Linked DNA regions of Homo sapiens: regions 2, 3 and 4 are each linked to region 1. The links are contacts of gene promoters, found by promoter capture Hi-C in blood cells and fetal thymus (Javierre and others, 2016). All regions are on one chromosome and are shown on one strand. The core of a region is centred on a gene start or on the middle of the fragment in contact, and the rest is flanking DNA. Distances in the headings are between cores, read along the strand shown. Region 1 holds the start of NUP160 (nucleoporin 160). Region 2 has its middle 2.2 kb from the start of ACP2. Region 3 overlaps MADD (MAP kinase activating death domain). Region 4 overlaps MADD (MAP kinase activating death domain).

Region 1 (2,985 bases), core at 344-2,843:
TTCTCCTGCCTCAGCTTCCCAAGTAGCCGGGATTACATGAGCGCACCATCATGCCCAGCTAATTTTTCTTTTTTTCTTTCTTCTTTTTTTTTTTTTTTTTGAGACAGTCTCGCTTTGTCACCCAGGCTGGAGTGCAGTGGCGCGATCTTGGCTCGCTGCAACCTCCACCTCCCAGGTTCAAGCGATTCTCCTGCCTCAGCCTCCCGAGTAGCTGGGATTACAGGCGTGCACCACCATGCCCGGCTAATTTTTTGTATCTTTAATAGAGACAGGGTTTCACCATGTTGGCCAGGTTGGTCTGAAACTCCTTACCTCGTGATCCACCCACCTCTGCCTCCCAGAGCGCTGGGATTACAGGCGTGAGCCACCGCGCCCGGCTAATTTTTCTATTTTTGGTAGAGACCGGGTTTCACCATGTTGGCCAGGCTGGTCTCGGACTCCTGACCTCAAGTGATCCTCACGCCTTGGCCTCCCAAAATGCTGGGAGCCACGCCCGACCCGGGTGTATAGTTTTCTCCAGTCATGTTCAGCTACAGATTTGAATGTAGTCGAAGTTGTAGTTTTTACCGATGAAGAGTTAGGCAATGAAGTAATTTAATGGTATTCAGGATAAGAAAGAAACACCAAAGAAGTGTGGGACAGTGAAGATTTTGTAGAACAATGGATTCCAGGTAGAATGAGGGGACTGCACTGCCAAAGTTGGTGTCCCAGAGGGAGTGAAGTGGAAAGATAGAAAATGATGGTCGGAACCAGATAAATGAAACGGAGAATGACAGGGAATGGTTGTGGTCACTGGTAATAGAAGTGCTTTAACTTCTATTGGCTATCACTAAGGAACAAAACCTTCCCCGCTGGAGATTAGCATTTTCCTCGATTTTGAACATCTACTCCCACAATATCTTCTAAACACCCACTATGGGCCCTTACTGCATTGACAGCCAAGTGCAAGATCACGGGTGGAAGGAATGGCAAATTCCTTTCACGTATCCAAGTGAGTAGCACTCAGGTAACCTCAGCAAGTGGCAGCACCAAGGTTTACCACATTACGTTTCATTATACAGGAATACACGAATACAGTCTCTTGGGGAGGGGAAAGACCAAAACCAAAGGCCTTTCCCTCACTACCCCTTCCTCACCCCGCCATCCCAAGTGTCGCCACTGAAGAGCGAAGGGAGGATCGCCAAAGATTTACAGACGGACACCCTAACCGAGGGAGAGGTGACCATAAACCCGGGATCCGGCAGAGGACGCCGAAAGGCCGGGACTCCCCGGACCTCGCCCCTCCTGGTCGACTGAGCCCCGCGTTTTAGAAACAGAAACAAACCCGGCCCCGCCCCCTGCCCTGCGGCCGCTGAGAAAAGAGCACCGCCCTCCGGAGGCGTTCCAGCCGGCCACTGGAAGGTTCCCGCAGATAGAGTCTGCCTCCCCTGCCCCCTTCTCTTCTGGATTCCTCGCTGCCCACCCTCATTCTCCCGGTGGAAGCCTCGCAACGAAGGGCCGGAGCCGCCTTTCTGCTCCCGGAATGCTTCACCTGTCCGCAGCTCCGCCCGCCCCACCCCCGGAAGTGACGGCGACCGCGCGGCCCTGCCTTTGTTCCGTTGGGCGTCGCGGCGACGGCGGGAAGATGGCGGCGGCGGGAGCCCTGGAACGGAGCTTCGTGGAGCTAAGCGGAGCTGAGCGCGAAAGGCCGAGGCACTTTCGGGAATTCACAGTCTGCAGCATTGGTACGGAAATGGCCAGGGAGGGTGCGATCCCATCTGTCCCCTCGGGCTCCTCTCATGGGTCCCAGGGTCCCTGACGCCCTGTTTCATCCTCCTGAGTCCACATGCCTCTAGCCCCGGGATCAGAGATTCCTTGATGTCCGACGTTTTCCTCTTTTCTTTGTATGGGTTGTCAGTCTGTCACTCTCTGCTTTGTCAGCTCCCTTAGTCCCTGTCATTTCTCAGAAGACGCGTGTGCAGGCTGACCACGTTCATTTTGCAGGGACTGCAAATGCCGTGGCTGGCGCCGTAAAATACAGTGAAAGCGCGGGAGGCTTTTACTACGTGGAGAGTGGCAAGTTGTTCTCCGTAACCAGAAACAGGTTCATTCATTGGTAAGTGTTGTGGTTCGCCAAACTCCCCTGGAAGGTAGGGTTTGGTGTATAAATTTTCGTCGCTGTACCCAAAGTGCTATTCTAGAAGCGGTAATTGACACTTAGGGAAAGAGAAAGATTGTTTTTTCAGTTCGTATCAGAATCGGGAAAACTGAGACACAGAGTTCTAGAAGAGATACCTCTCCCCCTCCCCCCCCCCACCCCCACACACACATACACCAAGCAACACCAGAAGCAGAGGAAATGTAGCTTAGGGGAATAAAGCCCATAAGACCAATTTTAAACATGAACCCGTTATGTTTTTATAGTGCTTTACAGCTTCCTTCATTGTACAAATACGTTCGAGCTTCAATATGTCAGGCATTGTGCTAGGTACCAGGACGAAATGAACAAAACTGCAATTTTCATCATGCAAGACGTTGTAGCAATGTCAGAATAGATGTAGACCCACTTTTCATGGGGAAATTTTTTGGAGGAAAACTTGCCCTAGAGGAAAAATATACGGGTTATGAGAGGCTAATAAGAGGACCAAATATAATTAGTGGGGCAGGGAAAGGCTTTAAGGAATTCACAGTTACCCTGAGATCTAAAGGACACGAGGTTAGCCAGGCATGGGGAGTGGACAGAGAGGAGTCCAGCAAGTAGGATCACCATATGCAAAGGTCATGAAGTGGAAAGAATGTGGCGGGTTTGGAACTGACCAAAGATCTGTGTGGCTTAAGTGCAGTGGGTAAAACAGAAAGTGATGTGAGATACTGAGGCTGGAGAGGTAGGCAGGACTCGGACCATGAGGGACCCTTAGGCCATTTTTAAGGATTTTTGGATTTTATCCTAAGTACATTGAGTAATAATTGAAAGATTTTTAAAGAGTTACTAACATCAAAATTGCA
Region 2 (2,985 bases), core at 258-2,757, 600 kb after region 1:
TTGGGAGGCCAAAATGGGCAGATCACCTGAGGTCGGGAGTTCGAGACCAGCCTGACCAACATGGAGAAGCTGTCTCTACTAAAAATACAAAATTAGCCAGGCGTGGTGGCACATGCCTGTAATCCCAGCTACTCGGGAGGCTGAGGCAGGAGAATCGCTTGAACCCGGGAGGCGGAGGTTGCTGTGAGCCGAGATAACGCCATTGCACTCCAGCCTGGGCAACAAGAGCAAAACTCCATCTCAAAAACAACAACAACAACAACAACAACAACAAAACAAAACAAAAACTGCCTCTTCAGATGGAAAAAAAATGGCTAACATACCTGGATTTAGGTTTGCTTCTGCCAACACAGAATATGGTAGTGGTTCCTGTCCTCACCTTCAGAGATTCTGATTTATTTGATCTGGGATAGGCCCACATATCCATCTATCTACATGTGTTTTTTTTTTTTCTTTTTTTTTTTTGCACCTGTAGTTACGAACCAAAGTGTAAGAACCACAGAATCATCTGGCAGAAAATGCAAAAGCTGAAGGCAAAGGGGTGAAGAAACTAGGGCTCAGCTTCAGGCTCTACTATCTACTTGCGCTGTAATCCCCACCCTTCCTGGAATAGTTTCTCCCTATAAAAACTGAAATAGTATCTGCTTCATCAATCCCTCCTACGTGGGATACTTGCATGCACAAAGAATATAGACATATTTGAGCAAGTGGGAAGAAAAGCAAAAGCTGAATTTGAGAGATAGCTGAAATTTGGTGAGCCAAAGATTTACACTCTGAAAGTACAATGGTCTGGCTAGTTTGCAAGGAGTAAGAGGCCCATTAAAACAAAACACTCAACTGCCTCCCACTACCACTAATATGCAGCATTTTGCCAATTACCCAAGCCCTCTTTATTTTATTTTTTTTTTTGAGACAGAGTCTCGCTCTGTTGCCCAGGCTGGAGTGAAGTGGCACAATCTCGGCTCACGGCAGCCTCTGTATCCTGGGTTCAAGTGATTCTCCTGTCTCAGCCTCCCCGGTAGCTGGGATTACAGGCACACGCCACCACGACTGGCTAATTTTTGTATTTTTAGTAGAGATGGGGTTTCACCATGGTGGCCAGGCTGGTCTTGAACTGCTGACCTCAGGTGATCCACCCGCCTCGTCCTCCCAAAGTGCTGGGATTACAGGTGTGAGCCATGTCCGGCCTAGGTCCCGTTTAGTCCAACTAATTTGAAAAGGTTTCCTTTGACAGATACCTCTTTATTGAAAGGATTTCGGGATCACCAATTACAGTTTAGTAATGCAGTTTGAGTAGCCTGCAAGAAGCAGCCCATTATAGACTATTTAACTGAAAATCACAAAACCTGACTTTTTTTTTTTGAGACGGAGTCTTGCTCTGTCGCCCAGGCTGGGGTGCAGTGGCACGATCTCCGCTCACTGCAAGCTCCGCCTGCTGGGTTCACGACATTCTCCTGCCTCAGCCTCCTGAGTAGCTGGGACTACCGGCACCTGCCACCACACCCGGCTAACTTTTTGTATTTTTAGTAGAGATGGGGTTTCACCATGTTAGCCAGGATGGTCTTGATCTCCTGACCTCGTGATCCACCCGCCTCGGCCTCCCAAAGTGCCGGGATTACAGGCGTGAGCACGCACCCGGCCAAAACTTGACTTTTAATCCATTCTCAAACTGTGCCCATGCCCAAACTGTGAATTTGGGCAAGTCACTTCCTCTCTTTAGGTTTGTTTCCTAAGCTGTAAAGTAAGAGGACTAGGTTAAATCAGGTATTCAGAGATGCTGATTTATGAAACCTGTAATAAATGGTCTTTGTGAACCATTTGGGATTATATGCAAAATTCCATGTGTGTGTTTATATGTGTGAACATTTTTCTGGAGGAGAGGTGCAAAATTTTCATGTGATTCATAAAGGGGCTTGTGATTAAATAAGAAGGTTAAGAACTGTTTGGCTACCCAGGCTTTGGCTCTTACTCTATTTGCTTCTTGGCCTCCTCCATGACAACTCTGGAAGCAAAGTTTAAATCCTGAAGTATATATAAATAATTGAATCTGGAGTCCTAGGACAAAATAAAGACAGATAATCCTGATCTTTTTTTTTCTTTTCTTCTTTTTGAGACACAGTCTTGCTCTGTCATCTAGACTGGAGTGCAGTTGCACCATCATGGCTCACTGCAGCCTCAACCTCCTGGGCTGAAGGTGATCCTCCCACCTCAGCCTCCCGAGGAGCTAGGACCACAGGTGTGTGCCACCACACCCAGCTAATTTTTAAACTTTTTTTTGTAGAGAGGAGATCTTCCTAAGCTGCTCAGGCTGGTCTCCAACTCCTGGGCTCAAGCAATCTTCCCACCCTGGCCTCCCAAAGTGCTGGGATTAGAAACGTGAGCCACCACACCAAGCCTAATCAGGTTTTTGTTGTTGTTGTTTTGAGACAGTCTCACTCTGTCGCGCAGGCTGGAGTGCAGTGGCGTGATCTCAGCTCACTGCAACCTCCGCTTTCCGAGTTCAAGCGATTCTCCTGCCTCAGCCTCCAGAGTAGCTGGGATTACAGGAGCACGCCACTGCACCCGGCTAATTTTTTTTTTTTTGTATTTTTAGTAGAGACGGGGTTTCGCCACGTTGGCCAGGCTGGTCTCGAACTCCTGACCTCAGGTGATCTGCCTGCTTCGGCCTCTCAAAGTGCTGGTATTACAGGTGAGCCACGGCGCCCAGGCCAAGCCTGATCAGTTTTGTTTCCCAAAGATCTGAGGAGATTTGCTTCCAGTAGGCAGATCTGAATCAAAGCATCCCCAGGACCTATGATCTGACCTGCAACCGTCACAGGAGTCACAAAGTCCTGAGGCCAAACTGGCTGCACCTGAATCCTAATGGTCAATGCCAAGAGGGCCATTGATTCTGTGGAAACCCCACCTACTCCCACTTTATGATATGCGCCTGTCCCTTACCTCAAAATACCTCCCCACTGGTCTGAAATTCCTCCCCCAGGGATT
Region 3 (2,985 bases), core at 188-2,687, 550 kb after region 1:
AGATGAGAAGCTCTGGGTGAAATCTCGTATACACACACCTATGATGGTAAACATCTCCACCATGAGAACCATGCTGACCTGAGACTCAGAGCAGCCTCCAAAGAGAAAGTAGCACCCTTTTCCAAAGGGGAAATCCACACCCCACCCACCAAGATGCCAGTGTGGTGTTCCCCTACCACGGTGCTAACTTCAGAATCCTGACTTGAGCTGCGGATCATAACAGCTGGACTCACGCCGATGACAGAGTCTTGATCAGTCCTCTGAAACAAGACACAGGAACATTAGGGGAGGTGTCCAATCTCCTCTCAGTTTCCCACAGAAATACTGTACCTTTTTCTTTCTCCTCATCCCCACCCTTCTGTTATCATCCTTAGAGAAGTCACGAGCAACTTTTGTTTCCAGAATATAAAATATGTACAACTTATGTAATAAAAAAAAGAAATAGGCCGGGCACAGTGGCTCACGCCTGTAGTCCTAGCACTTTGGGAGGCTGAGGTGGGAGGATCATTTCAGCCCAGGAGTTGGAGACCAGGCTGGGCAACATGGCGAAACCCCATCTCTACAAAAAATACACAAACTTAGCCAGGCATGGTGGTGGGTGCCTGCGGTCCCAGATGCTCAGGACGCTGAGGTGGGAGCATCACTTGAGCCCAGGAGTTTGAGGCTGCAGTGAGCAGAGAGCACACCACTGCTCTCCAGCTGCAGCGACAGAATGAGACCCTGTCTCAAAAAAAAAAACAAAAAAACAAAAAACAATGCGTTAAAGAAGTACATGCTCACTGTAGAAAATACATGAAAGAATAAGGAAATAAGAACAAGCTGTAAATCTACCTCCCACGTTAACCACTGTTTTTAGTATATTTCCTTTCAGTTTTTTCTCAATACATTTTAAAAATAAAATTGGAGTCACACTATAGGTAGCTTTGTTAAACAGTTTCCCATGTCACTAAATTTTTGAAAACACAATCTTTAATGGATACTAATATTGCATTACATGGATCTATTATACTTATTTAATAATTCCCTTATCATTAGTTATTTATATTGTTTTGAGGTTGTTCATTTTTTTTTTTTTTTTTTTTTTTTGAGACGGAGTCTCACTCTGCGGCACAGGCTGGAGTGCAGTGGCGCAATCTCAGCTCGCTGCAACCTCTGCCTCCCGGGTTCCAGTGATTCTCCTGCCTCAGCCTCCTAAGTAGCTGGGATTACAGGTGCCCGCCACCACACCCAGCTAACTTTTGTATTTTTAGTAGAGACGGGGTTTCACTACGTTGGCCAGGCTGGTCTCCAACTCCAACTCCTGACCTCAAGTGACCCACCTGCCTCGGCCTCCCAAAGTCCTGTGATTACAGGCATGAACCACCGCACCTGGCTATTTTATTTTTATTTTTATTTTTTTTTTTTTTTGAGATGGAGTTTCACCTTTGTTGCCCAGGCTGGAGTGCAACAGCACAATCTCGGCTCACCACAACCTCCGCCCACCGGTTAAAGCATTTCTCCTGCCTCAGCCTCCCGAGTAGCTGGGATTACAGGCATGCGCCACCATGCCTGGCTAATTTTGTATTTTTCATAGGGGCGGGGTTTCACCATGTTGGTCAGGCTGGTCTCGAACTCCCGACCTCAGGTGACCCACCCGCCTCGGCCTCCCAAAGTGCTGGGATTACAAGCATGAGCCACTGTGCCCGGCTGTCTGACTGTTCTATTTTAACTTAAAGAAGTATTCTGAGACAGCATATTTAATACTTGCAAATTTCAACAAGGTTGTCACAAACCTGGGAACTAGACGTCAGGCTCACACCACTGTCTGCGCTGATCTGGGACTTTTTCTCCTCTGTCTCACCAAGGTCAAAGACAGGTTTGATTACTTCAGGCCCTGAGTAGGGGAAGACTTCTGTTACTCCGTGCACAAAGGCTAGGGGCAGGCTGGTAAAGGGGGTGGGACGGCAGCACAGGCTGTTCCCAGACCCGTTCAGCCCATCCTAGTCACCTTTCCAAGGACTACCCCCCACTCAGGACCCACTGGAAAAAGAGGACCCCAGATGCCTTAAGAACCAAGTAGGACAAATCAGACCTGGTCTCAATGGGTTCTCCAGCCATCTTCTCAACCTGAGAAAATTCTGAGCAAATCATCTTAAAACAGAGAAGCTCCACAAGGCTGGGCATGGTGGCTCACGACTGTAATCCCAGCACTTTGGGAGGCTGAGGCAGGTAGATCACCTGAAGTCAGGAGTTTGAGACCAGCCTGGCCAACATGATGAAACCCTGTCTCTACCAAAAAATACAAAAATTAGCCGGGCGTGGTGATGCACACCTGTAATCTCAGCTACTCGGGAGGTTGAGGCACGACAATTGCTTGAGCCCTGGAGGCAGAGGTTGCAGTGAGGCAAGATCGTACCACTGCACTCCAGCCTGAGCAGCAGAGCAAGACTCCATCTCAAAAAAAAAAAAAAAGAAAAGCTCCACGAACAAATGTCTAAACCACATTCCATGGCACTCAAGAGTCTGAGCTTCACTGGTACCTGAAACCATTTAATGGTCCCCAGGTCCCTTAATGCTTCCCAAACAAATGTGTCTAAAGGAGGTAGAAAAGGTTGGGCCCGATGAGATAAGAAACACCAGCTGTTTTGGTGGGCACTGCCTACCTCCATCCTACAACTTCTATGTTTGAGATGAAAACCACCCCCCTTGTCCCCCACCCACCCACAATGGTATGGCAGAAAGACAGAATGACAGAAAGCAAGAAAGCGTGCCTAGGCAAGCCACCAGAGAGTGGGGCAGCTACAGACTCAACATGGAGGGACAGCAACCATCTCTGCCAACTGTGCCCACAGGCCTTCTAACAGGTGTGGGAGATATCAGCCAATGGGGGGCACTAAAATAGGCAAACATTCTCCCCACCAACTCTGAAGCAACAGAGAACCAAGTTCTGGGGAGTTGTATTCAGTAGACACCTGGTTATAGCCTGATTGACACGAGGGGAGGGGG
Region 4 (2,985 bases), core at 166-2,665, 530 kb after region 1:
CCGTTTGTATCTGTCCCTGCATGTACCACAAATGTCTGCTTCTTCATGTGCCGGCTGCCACTGGACCAGATAGAGAGATCGCGTCCATTCTGATGAAAGAGAGATTTTTTAGGGACAGTCATACATCCCTCTCAGAGGGCTCTGGGCCAAGAATTCCCCATCCAGCAATCAAATTCATATCGGCTTCCTCAGCACAGTCTCATCTGCTGGCCACTGGTCACCAGGGAAGTGGTTTCAGATGTTTTGGTCTCAGAGGCCCTATATCTCTTAAAATTTATTGAAGATTCCAAAGAGCTTTTGTTTATGTGAGTTATATTTATAGATATTTACATACTAGAAATTTAAACAGAAATTTCTCAAATGATTAATTATAAAAACAATTAATGATTAATATAACCCATTACATAGTAATATAAACATTTTTAATAAAATAACTATATTTTCAAAAAAAAGGCACTGTTTCACATTTTTGCAAATCTCTTTAATGTTTGGCTTAGAATCAAATAGTTGCATTCTCCTATCTGCCTCTGCATTGAGTCTGTTGCAGTATGTTGCTTTGGTTGAGGTATATGAAAAAAACTTGACCTCAGAGATACGTATTTGGAAAATGGAAGAGGATTTTCATAGCCTTTTCAGATAAATAGACGTATTCTTCTTTAACACTACACCAGAACTTGGGAAGCAGAAGCTTCTTTTTTTTTAGAGACAAGGTTTCGCTCTGTCATCCAGGCTGGAGTGCAGTGGCATGACCATAGCCCACCACAGCTCTGAACTCCTGGGCTTAAGTGACACTCCTGCCTCAGCCTCCCAAGTACCTGGAATTACAGGCATAAACCACAACACCCAGCAAAAGCAGCTTTTGAAAGTTAGTTGCAGTGTGGAATCTGAAAGCACATCAATGAACATTTTACATTGTTACATTAAAATCCATTTAGGCCAGACATGGTGGCTCATTCCTATAATCCCAACACTTTGGGAGGCCAAGTCAGGAGTACCGTTTGAGCCCAGGCAGGAGTTGGAGACCAGCCTGGGCAACAAAGTGAGACCCTATTCTCCATACACTTTTTTTTTTTTTTTGAGACAGGGTCTCATTCTGTCACCCAGGCTGGAGTGCAGTGGTGCTCACGGCAGCCTCAACCTCCTGAGCTCAAGTGATCCTCCCACCTCAGCCTCCCAAGTAGCTGGGACTACAGGTGCATGCCACCATGCCTAGCTAATTTTTTTATTTTTTGTAGAAATGGGGTCTCCCTTGGCTGGGCGCGGTGGCTCACACCTGTAATCCCAGCACTTTGGGAGGCCGAGGTGGGCGGATCAAAAGGTCAGGAGTTGGAGACCAGCCTGACCAGCGTGGTGAAACCCCATCTCTACTAAAAACATAAAAATTAGCCGGGCGTTGTGGCGGGCACCTGTAATCCCAGCTACTCATGAGGCTGAGGCAGGAGAATAGCTTGAACCTGGGAGGCGGAGGTTGTAGTGAGCCGAGATCGCGCCGCTGCACTCCAGCCCGGGTGACAGAGTGAGACTCCGTCTCAAAAACAAACAAACAAACAAAAAGAAATGGGGTCTATGTTCCCCAGACTGAAAAAAAATGTTATTTAAAAATTAAGATCCATATCTCTGCCTTGCATTTTGAGTAGATCTTTTATCCATACTTGAATTTACAACATCATACATTGGTATTTAGAAAATACTGTTGGCTGGGTGCCTGTAATCCTAGAACTTTGGAAGGCCAAGGTGGGCGGATTGACTAAACTCAGGAGTTCAAGACCACAGCCTGGGCAAGATGGTGAAACCCCGTCTCTATTAAAATACAAAAAAAAAAAAAAACTAGCCAGGTGTGGCAGCATACGCCTGTACTCCCAGCTGCTCAGGAGGCTGAGGCAGGAGAATTGCTTGAACCCAGGAGCCCAGGAGGCGGAGGTAGCAGTGAGCCAGCATCCTGCCACTGCACTCCAGCCTGGGCCACAGAGCGAGACTCCGTCTCCAAAAAAAAAAAAAGAAAGAAAATAGTGTTTCACTGAGTTACACAGCTCTTCCAAATGTTGACATATTTTGTAATATTAAATCAATGTTTAAAAAATCACATTCATTAATATCACCACCAATCTCATTAGAAAAGTCTTTAAATATTGGGAAGCTTCAAGTTCAAAACTCTGCCAAAATTCTTATTTTCACTTAAAAGCTGAATCTTATCATTGGCAACAAATACTGTCAGTTGTTTTCCCTGAAACAACAGGCTCACTTGATTAACTGAAGGAAAATGTCTGCCAGTTGGGTACTCTGAATAACCATGGTTTATTAATTGTCCTTTCCAGTAAAAATGATGTTCAATGAACAAAGCGATTAAGTTCACTTGCAACTCAAGGTGAACAAATCAAGGCTGCAAATTGCTTTTCTTCAAAACAACCATCATACTGGGTTTGCAACAGAGATGCTTTATGTGTACTTCCCATTTTGTCACAAAGAATATTAAAAACATTTATAATTAATCAATCTAATAAGAGTAACAGTCTTCACTGCTTCTTCAAGGACATTTACAAGCACAACTGGCATTTTTAAAAAACTAAGAGTGTAAGCCAGGTGCGGTGGTTCACACCCGTAATCCCAGAACTTTGGGAGCTAAGGCAGGCAGATCACTTGAGGTCAGGAGTTCAAGATCAGCCTGGCCAACATGGGGAATGCCCATCTCTACTGAAAATACAAAAATTAGCTGGGCGTGGTGGTGCATGCCTGTAACCTCAGGAGCTTCAGCTACTCGGGAGGCTGAAGCAGGAAAACTGCTTGAACTCGGGAGGCAGAGGTTGCAGTGAGCCAAAATTGCGCCATTGCACTCCAGTCTGGGCAACAAGAGAGTGAAACTCTGTCTCAAAAAATATATATGTATATACAAAAATTAGCTGGGTGGGCGGGCACATGCCTGTAATCCCAGCTACTTGGGAGGCTGAGGCATGAGAATCGCTTGAACCCAGGAGGTGGAGGTTGCAG

Evidence for each region. The method cuts DNA at HindIII sites, captures the fragments that hold promoters and counts their contacts. A CHiCAGO score of 5 or more calls a contact.
Region 2: a contact is called between a fragment that was not itself captured here and the fragment with the promoter of NUP160 in region 1, in 1 of 17 cell types (fetal thymus). The highest score is 5.1, in fetal thymus.
Region 3: a contact is called between a fragment that was not itself captured here and the fragment with the promoter of NUP160 in region 1, in 2 of 17 cell types (erythroblasts and activated CD4 T cells). The highest score is 5.5, in erythroblasts.
Region 4: a fragment that was not itself captured here is called in contact with the fragment with the promoter of NUP160 in region 1 in 1 of 17 cell types (total CD8 T cells); the score reaches 5.6 in total CD8 T cells.

Annotation. Positions count from the first base shown.
Region 1 is chr11:47,846,958-47,849,942 of GRCh38, reverse strand. NUP160 (nucleoporin 160) reads left to right here and starts at 1,593. Exons shown (of 36, transcript NM_015231.3): 1 at 1,593-1,724; 2 at 1,984-2,095. The coding sequence starts at 1,625. RefSeq lists an enhancer at 1,096-1,655. The HindIII fragment of the contact is 7,211 bases long and covers 1-2,985 here.
Region 2 is chr11:47,249,536-47,252,520 of GRCh38, reverse strand. It overlaps a transcript of NR1H3 not described here. Among named protein-coding and RNA genes, the nearest start is that of ACP2, 2.2 kb to the right of the region's middle. The HindIII fragment of the contact is 3,279 bases long and covers 1-2,985 here.
Region 3 is chr11:47,292,771-47,295,755 of GRCh38, reverse strand. MADD (MAP kinase activating death domain) reads right to left here. Exons shown (of 37, transcript NM_001376571.1): 22 at 1,773-1,873; 23 at 177-260. Among named protein-coding and RNA genes, the nearest start is that of MADD-AS1, 22 kb to the right of the region's middle. The HindIII fragment of the contact is 3,479 bases long and covers 1-2,985 here.
Region 4 is chr11:47,312,324-47,315,308 of GRCh38, reverse strand. MADD (MAP kinase activating death domain) reads right to left here. Exons shown (of 37, transcript NM_001376571.1): 30 at 1-89. Among named protein-coding and RNA genes, the nearest start is that of MYBPC3, 39 kb to the left of the region's middle. The HindIII fragment of the contact is 1,449 bases long and covers 691-2,139 here.